Regions from separate parts of the Homo sapiens genome. Here region 1 is linked to region 2. The links are contacts of gene promoters, found by promoter capture Hi-C in blood cells and fetal thymus (Javierre and others, 2016). All regions are on one chromosome and are shown on one strand. Each heading gives the region's core, a stretch centred on a gene start or on the middle of the fragment in contact. The rest is flanking DNA. Distances are from core to core; before and after follow the strand shown. Region 1 overlaps PCDHB1 (protocadherin beta 1). Region 2 holds the start of PCDHA3 (protocadherin alpha 3).

Region 1 (4,396 bases), core at 422-2,921, 260 kb before region 2:
CTCTTGGCTCTAACCAATGACACTGGCTTTTATTCTCCATTTTTCATGGTGAACATTTTGTTCCTGAGAGCCCATAAGAGCCAAACCAATGGTAGCCTATGCCAACTTCCCATCCTGATAGCTTGGAAATCCAAGGATTTTATCCCCACTTACCATTTTATGTCTGTTTCATTTCTGGTTTTCCTTGTTTTTGGTTTTTTTTTTTTTTTTTTTTTTGAGATGGAGTCTCACTCTGTCGCCCAGGCTGGAGTGCAGTGGTGTAATCTCGGCTCACTGCAACCTCTGCCTCCTGGCTTCAAGCGATTCTTATGCCTCAGCCTCCTGAGTAGGTGGGATTACAGGTGCATGCCACCACGCCCAGCTAATTTTTGTATTTTGTAGTAGAGACAGGGTTTCACCATGTTGGCCAAGCTGGTCTCGAACTCCTGACCTTGGCCACCCACCTCAGCTTCCCAAAGTGCTGGGATTACAGGCATGAGCCACCGTGCCTGGCCTTGCATTTTTTTTTTTTTGGCCAGGGGCGGGTAGTGGGGGGTACGGAGTTTAGCTCTTGTTGCCCAGGCTGGAGTGCAATGGCCTGATCTCGGCTCACTGCATCCTCCGCCTCCTGGGTTCAAGCGATTCTCCTGTCTCAGCCTCCCAAGTAGCTGGGATTACAGGTTCATGCCACCACACCTGGCTAATTTTTGTATTTTTAGTAGAGACGGGGTTTCATCATATTGGTCAGGCTGGTCTCGAACTCCTGACCTCAGGTGATCCGCCTGCCTTGGCCTTCTGGGATTACAGGTGCAAGCCACCACGCCCAGCCGCATTTTTTTTAATTTTTAATTTTTACCTGTTACTGCTGTATTTAGAGCAGAGCGTGGTACACAGAAGCATAAACTTACTTCACCAGCTTGACCAGAAAACTTTTGTTACTTTCACTTTTTCACATTCTGTTTCAGTGGTTTTTTTGTTTGTTTGTTTTTGGGGGTTTTTTTGTTTGTTTTTTTGAGACTGAGTCTTACTCTGTTGCCCAGGCTAGAGCGTGGTGGCATGATGTGAGCTCACTGCAATCTCTGCCTCCTGGGTTCAAGCAATTCTCGTGCCTCAGCCTCCCAAGTAGCTGGGACTACAGGTGTGAGCCACCATGCCTGGCTAATTTTTGTATTTTTAGTAGAGAGGGGTTTCCACCGTGTTGGCCAGGCTGGTCTCGAACTCCTGACCTCAGGTGATCTCCCCACCTTGGCCTCCCAAAGTGTTGGGATTACAGGTGTGAGCCACCATGCCCGGCCTGTTTCAGTGTTATATAAACACAACAAATACTTTAATAATGTTTTTTAAAAGTGTTACACATATTTGAAAATGAAGTCAGACTTTTGGTTGAAGAATGAATGTCCACTTAGTCACATACTTTGAAGATATTAAACTCTACAGAAAATAGCTATTTATATGGGATAATCATATGAATGAATTATGCTTCCAAGAATAAGACAAATTCATCCCTAAATGGAAAACAACAAAAAATGCACAAACATGATAAAGAAATTCTTTATTTTTAGGAGAATTACATAATATCAGACAGACCAATTCCATTTTTTGTATATCTGTAAGTCTAATTTCAGCATATAAGTCTATTTTTAAATAGTATCTCAGGTATATATAGCTTAAACTATATAAACATGTCTGCACAACAAATTTTAAAATTTTCAGTTTATATCTATTTTAAAATGTATGACTAATTTAAAATTATGTTAGTATAATTTTCATTTAAAGTTAAAACTTTATGCATGAACCTTAATGGGGTTACTTTATGATTGTTTAAAATAATCTAACATGTAGAGTTACAAAGAAATACTAATTTTGATAAAAATGTATTCTATATGGATAATTCCAGTCTTAAAAATCTGCTCTTCATCTCAGATAAAAGAGTTTGCTGAACAACAAAGTAAATGATAGGATTAGTTTGTAACCCAAATAATAGAGGAGATATCCAGGTATCCTTATGTAAAGAAATAACTAACTAAATAAGTGGGGGGGAAAGTAACAAGTTTTCCTTCCAGAAGAATTTTAATTAATGTAAAAGGAAATAGAGAAATAGAAAATCACCATTAGAATGCCACAATATTAATTGCCACAGGAAATATCTAGCAATGGATACTAAAATTGGTTTAAGCAGAAACATCATATTTGCATAGTTTCAAAGCATATCCCCCAAGTGTTTATTAATTACAAAGAGAAAAAAGTAACTTTATAGTAGAGAAACGTGGCAGACATTATGTTAACCAAGCGATCAAAATTAACATCACCTTAACATTACTTAAAAATGGCTAACATACTTAAAAATGGCTAACATGGTACATTTTATAAGTTCTTTACCACAATAAAAGAAAAAAGATTAATATCACCAGTAGTGTGACATTGGCATCACATACCTGCTGACGTGATGCACTGAAAAGGATACAATATCATTTCTGCAGTATTTTTCCCAATAATGCATTACCTCAGTTTAATAATGAGAAAACAAAGAATCCCAAACTGAGGGGCATTCTACAAATAACTGGCTAGTACTCTTCAAAAATCTCAAGTCATGATAGACAAGGTAAGAGTAAGGAACTGTCACAGGTGGTAGAGACTAAGGAGCCATAACAAATGCTTTGCAGGATCCTGGATTGGATCCTTGAATAGAAAAAGGACATTGGGGGAAAACTGTTAAATTTGAATAAGATCTGTAGTTTACTTCATAGAATTATACCAAGGTTAATTTCTTAATTTTGATAACTACTATGGTTATATAAGATGTTAGCATTCCGGGAAGTTAGGTGAAGGATATACAGGAACTATCTATAGTATTTTTGCAATTTTATGAGTCTAGAATTATTTCCTAATAAAAAGCCTTTTTGTACAAGACACTTTTCAAGGTTCTTAGGTTATAGCTTTGAATACATAGAAATAGTTATAATATCACTTGACACTTTGGAGAGAGTAATTGCCCTAATTATTTCCATTCTTTGTCTTAATTTGCTGATAGAGACCTGGACTTAATCTCAGCTGGTGTACAGAGTTCTCTCCAAAAACAAGTGGCCTACTTCACATTCAGTGAATTGATATATTCTTATTTTAAGTTATCAGGTAGGATTGGAATTTTCTTGGGAACTTGAAGTCTGAATAAAATTAGAGTGACAAAATTTTCACCTAAGGCAAAAATAAGAAAAATGGTGGCAAAATAATTTTTTATTAAATCGATACATTTTTTAAATTTAAAGGATGGTTTCTTTTATGAGATTGTTATCTTACCTTTTTTTTTCTTTTTTCTTTTTTTCTTTTTTTTTTTTTTTTTTGAGACAGAGTCTTGCTTTGTCGCCAGGCTGGAGTGCAGTGGCATGATCTCAGCTCACTGCAACCTCCACCTCCTGGGTGCAAGCAATTCTCCTGCCTCAGCCTCCCAAGTAGCTGGGACTACAGGCACATACCACCACACCCAGCTAATTTTTGTATTTTTAATAGAGACATGGTTTCACCATGTTGGCCAGGATGGTCTCCATCTCTTGACCTTGTGATCCATCTGCCTCAGCCTCCCAAAGTACTGGTATTACAGGTGTGAGCCACCATGCCCAGCCTATCTTAACCATTTTTATATTAAAATGCCATTTCGTTTATGGAATAATGGTGGCGTGAAGTGGTAGATTTTATCTCATTTAATGTGAAAAAATAAAAAGTTGACAAATCTACATCTTCTGTCCATTGTGTATGTGTGTATATATGTATTCATGAATTTCACTGCTATTTGAATATCAAAGTCTTAAAATCATGAATCTACACCATTTTCTTTTCCTATCCTTGACATTAAGCCAGTTTCCATTGATTATGTTCACATCATTAAGTGTAATGAAACACAGTTAATACAGTAGCTTTTACTTAAGCATGTTTTATTAACTAATTATTGCTTACCCATAAAAATTAATTCTAGGCTGGGCATGGTGCTGTAATCCTAGCACTTTGGGAGGCCAAGGCGGGTGGATCACCTGAGATCAGGAGCTCGAGACCAGCCTGGCCAACATAGCGAAATGCCAACATGGCGAAGCCCCGTCTCTACTAAAAACACAAAATTTAGCTGGGCGTGGTAATGTATACCTGTAGTCCCAGCTACTCAGGAGGCTGAGGCAGGAAGATCACTTGAACCCAGGAGACGGAGTTTGCAGTGAGCCGAGATCATGCCACTGTACTCCAGCCTGGGTGACAGAGCAAGACTTTGTCTCCAAAAAATAAATAAATAAATAAAAATTCTATCTCCTTTTTCATTTAAAGGAAATAGAAATTTCAGCATGCCTTCACCAATTGGAACACAAATACACTGGAACACTTATTCTATGTTTTGTGCAAGAAAACCTTTACTCTAAATCGGAATCATAACTCA
Region 2 (4,557 bases), core at 60-2,559:
TCAGCGAGCAGGTGACCTGTCCATTGACTCCTGAGTCGCGGTCGGACACGCTGATCAGAGCGATGACTGTGCTAAGTGGAGAGTCTTCTAATACAGGTAAAGATAGTGATTGAATAACTAACTCAGGTACATTATCATTGATGTCCACAATTTCGAGTAGAACTGTGCAGTGATCTGACATTGGGGGATTTCCTTTATCCGTGGCTTCTACCTGGATTTCATATGACTTACTTTCCTCGAAATCTATGTTACCCTTTACACTGATTTGTCCATTGACTGGATCTAAATGGAATTTTGACAGAATATCTGCTGACATGTCCGTATTGAAAGAATACGCGATATCCTTATTTACTCCTTCATCCAAATCGGTGGCGTTAACGGTCACCACTAGGGTACCATTTGGTGCATTTTCGAGTAATCTGACTTTATAGATCGTCCTCTCAAACGCTGGGGCGTTGTCGTTTACATCTAAAACAGTGATCTTTAGTTGAGTCGTGCCAGTGAGCTCTGGTTTCCCACCATCAATTGCTGTTATTAGTAAATAATGCTTAGGAGTGTCCTCTCGATTTAAATTTTTTTTCAACACGAGTCCAAGGGATTTAATTTCCTCATCATTTCTTTTAACGTCCAAGGTAAAATATTCAGTGGAATCAAGACTGTAAGTCAACAACGAATTTGTTCCGATATCTGCATCTGATGCGCCCTCTAGCGAAAACCGAGAGCCAGGCTGTCGGGATTCGGAAATAAACAGATTCTTTACAGCCATTGGAAAAACTGGCGCGTTGTCATTAATGTCCTTCACTTCCACCTCCACATGGAAAACCTGCAGCGGCCTGTCCACGATCACCTCCAGGTGGATGCTGCACTCCGCGCTCCGCCCGCACAGTTCCTCGCGGTCTATCCGAGAATTCACAAACAAAATGCCATTCTGCAGATTTACCTCCAGAAGGTCCCCGTGTCTTTTGGACGCCACCCGGAACAGGCGCGGCACCAGCTCCGCCAGCTCCAGCCCCAGGTCCTGCGCGATGCGGCCCACGAAGGTGCCATGCTTGGCCTCCTCAGAGACGGAGTAGTGGAGCTGGCCGCTCCCCACCTCCGAGGCTGCGAGGAGCAGAAGAGAAAGCAGCAGGCACTGGGCTCCAGGATCTTCTCGCCAGGAGAACAACATTGCAAGTATTTTCCAAATATTAGATTGCCTTTACATTGATCCAAAGTTTAAAAATAATTCGAGTTCCTTATCTTCATTTCTTAAACTCCTCGGTGTTAAATTTTAGAGAGGATGAAGCAAAGCAGTATCTGAATACGTAATGCACGCTGTTATTTCTTTTGTGGAGAAAGACCTTGTGGTGGACAGCGACATCATGTGGCTAAACGTGTAAGTATTAAATATGTAAACGTATCTTCTTTTCCTTGTATGTCGTTTGAACTTTCCCAAAATTTCTAGTTTCAATTGTAATATCCTTCGGTCACTCCTCAAAGTCCTTATATTTTATCTAAATATTTCCTTAGAACTTTTATACTAATTCACTATCAATTGTGCTAATTCATGACATACACTAAAATATTGTGATTCCTGTTTTAACAGTGGACATCTATTGGAAATATTTCCCATGTGACAGCCACTTTTCTATTTGTCTTAATGGAATTATCCCGTTAAATTATCACAATCCTCTGAAATAAGTTTTAATATTATTCGCTTTTTATAAACACATAGAGGTTAAGTAAAACGATATTATCTCTTGGTACGATGGGATTTCAATCTGATTCAAGACAACTTACCATTAACCTCTTTACCACCCAAGTTACATTTTATAGAAAAATCAGATCCTTTCAGATTTATGATCATCAAAACATTGAGATGTTGAAGTATTTAAAAGTGTGTGTGTGCTGTATATATTAAAACATACATATATCTACTTTTATGTTATTACAGCAACTGTTAATTTCTTAAAATATGTACATTTATGGTTTTTTAAATTTGTAGAATGTCTGTAATTCCCTCCCATGCCCCTTTTTCAAGAACTATAGCCTCATCAACTGTCTTGACTGTAACTTACATAAAGATTTCAGAAGTCGGTCCTTTACAGAGAAATTCAAACAGGAAATTTGTTTCCTATTGTGGGAATGTGATTTGTATATTTGTTACACTCACATCACATCAATTAAGAATATATTAGGTTTAATTTTTCCACACTCTTTATGTATTTGAATTTACCTGTATATACTAAAATGTTAACAATATAAAGTAATTACGTTTTTGATGATCTCCACTCCTGATGAATTTCTAGATTCCAGTTTTTTTAAAAGTTGTTACTTGAAAGAATTGATTATTTAACTAAACAGTGAAGGGAGAAAAGTAACCTAGGAACATAAGCCAGTATTTACTCAACATATTTAACACTAAGCAATAAAACATTCTAAAGATATCTGTGAATTCAATGAGAAGCATGAATTCTCGCCGCATTTGGAAGTGGGGCAAAGAAAATTTATGGAAAGAGGTCAAATTTAGAGAAATAAAATAATGTACAAATTTTTGCTTATACCCAGACCATTTAAAAATGAAATCAAACATGTGATTTAAATATTTAGGGGAAAAGTTTTCATTTCAGCTTTTGTTTCCTGTGTATTCATGAAATGGAAGCCAGGACTGCAACTTACTCAGATTTTATCATTCATATTTAGAATAGGATAAATTATCAATTGTTGTTTTCATGAATAAATAAATTAATATTTTGAATTAACTTTTTCAAGCAAGATAAATAAAAATGTAAGTTAATGATATTTGTTAATATCAAACTTACATAATTTCTAAATGATTATATTGTGCTATATTATGAAGAAGTAAGTAAACATTTAAGCATTATTTCTGAAAAGCATGGACCTAAGAAATAATTATAGCTATTAATATTCCAGTTACCACTTTGCTGAATTTTTAAAGATGGTAGCTAGTTTGAAAATAAGAGATAAATTTAAAATTTTTAAACTTCATGGACTTCATAGTAATGAGATGCCTTTGACAACTTATTGTAATACTGCACTTTTCAGTACCTTTAAGAGTTATACTAATTGCAAAATGGAATGTCACATGAGAATTTATAGCAGAGTAGACTCCATACTGATTATTAAGAGATAAAGGTAATATTAAAGGAACTATGAGTTTAGAAGATTGAGCCATTTTGTAGATAAAGTATCAGTGAATAATTTCTACTACCACCTAGATGTCACTTAGACAACCAAGAAAAAATGTAAATAAGAATGTTTTGAAAAAACTTATAGAGCAACAGATTGTGACTCCTGGAGATTTGGATATATGTGAATATAATTTTAGAAGCTTATCATTTACCTATGGTAGAAACATAGTGGTCAAGTATTACTTGGAAATGGATATTCTGACCTAACTATGAAATGGCTAAAGGTAAGATCACTAGTGGAAGTTATTTCTATGATTTATCAATATGCACATATATTTAGAATAAACAGCAAATAACTAAGAACTAAATAGTAGAGGACCGTTTAAGACAGTTATTTTATTGCAATACATCTGCCTTTGGTTGGAAAAGCTAAAAAAGTTCTTTCCAAGTGTAACATTTACTTGTCGAGTTCAGTGTTATAATTACCCAAAATAAATGTTTCAAGTGAAAATGTAGTCATCCAAGACCAGGCCTCATCTTTTGGAAAAATTCCAATTTCATTAGGAATATGGATGCTTCCAGGTAAAATTGAGTGAGCTCACATTAATGGAAAATGTATTCCCACGCATAGAATTAGATGCCAGAAAAAAGTAGTCAATCTCTGCAGTGGGAGGCCTGCACACATTGGCCTAATGATAATGATACTGAAAGGATGATTTATCAACCATTAACATAAAGACTGGGTAGTCTCCACTTAAATGAAGAAAAAGTCCCACCACCTGAAAAACCCCAGTGTGATTTTTAAATGTTAATATTTTCAAATTAAACAAAATTGAGAGGGTCTCTTTTCTCAATACTCTCTATTTTTGCCTGATAACTCAAAAATGTTATCAGTGTGAAATCTTTATACCAAATAATGGGTTATTTTACTTATAAAAAACATACTTAAGATTAGCAGTTATTCCTAAGTGCTGTCATTTTGTTGTAACAACCTGTGCTACATACTTTTGGAAATTCTGGTGTTAAAATATCCACTCAGGCTGCTTTCAAATACAAATAAAAAGACCAGGTGCAGTGGCTCACTCCTGTAATCCCAGCACTTTGGGAGGCCTAGGAGGGTGGATCACTTGAGGCCAGGAGTTTGAGACCAGCCTGGCCAACATTTAGTTGAGACCAACCCCGTCTCTACTAAAAATAAAAAATTTAAAAAAGAAAATAGCCGGGCGTGGTGGTGGGCGCCTGTAATCCCAGTTACTAAGGAGGCTGAGGCAAGACAATCACTTGAACCCGGGTGGCAGAGGTTATAGTGAGCTGAGATCACACCACTGCACTCCAGCCTAGGTGACAGAGCAAGACTGTCTCAACAAAAACAAACAAACAAAAAAAAAATGTAGCTTATTAACTATTGCATAGACAAGGGCATTGT

What was found. Contacts are between HindIII fragments. The CHiCAGO score rates a contact against its expected background, and 5 or more counts as called.
Region 1: a fragment that was not itself captured here is called in contact with the fragment with the promoter of PCDHA3 in region 2 in 1 of 17 cell types (M2 macrophages); the score reaches 6.4 in M2 macrophages.

The regions. Positions count from the first base shown.
Region 1 is chr5:141,056,465-141,060,860 of GRCh38, reverse strand. It overlaps PCDHB1 (protocadherin beta 1), which reads right to left. Exons shown (of 1, transcript NM_013340.4): 1 at 1,515-4,396. It overlaps PCDHB1-AS1 (PCDHB1 antisense RNA 1), which reads left to right. Exons shown (of 4, transcript NR_105056.2): 2 at 3,011-3,111. It also overlaps PCDHB@. Among named protein-coding and RNA genes, the nearest start is that of PCDHB1, 7.3 kb to the right of the region's middle. The HindIII fragment of the contact is 6,836 bases long and covers 1-4,396 here.
Region 2 is chr5:140,797,809-140,802,365 of GRCh38, reverse strand. PCDHA3 (protocadherin alpha 3) reads right to left here and starts at 1,309. Exons shown (of 4, transcript NM_018906.3): 1 at 1-1,309. The coding sequence starts at 1,168. All of the region lies in intron 1 of PCDHA1 (protocadherin alpha 1), which reads right to left. All of the region lies in intron 1 of PCDHA2 (protocadherin alpha 2), which reads right to left. It also overlaps PCDHA@. The HindIII fragment of the contact is 7,276 bases long and covers 1-3,333 here.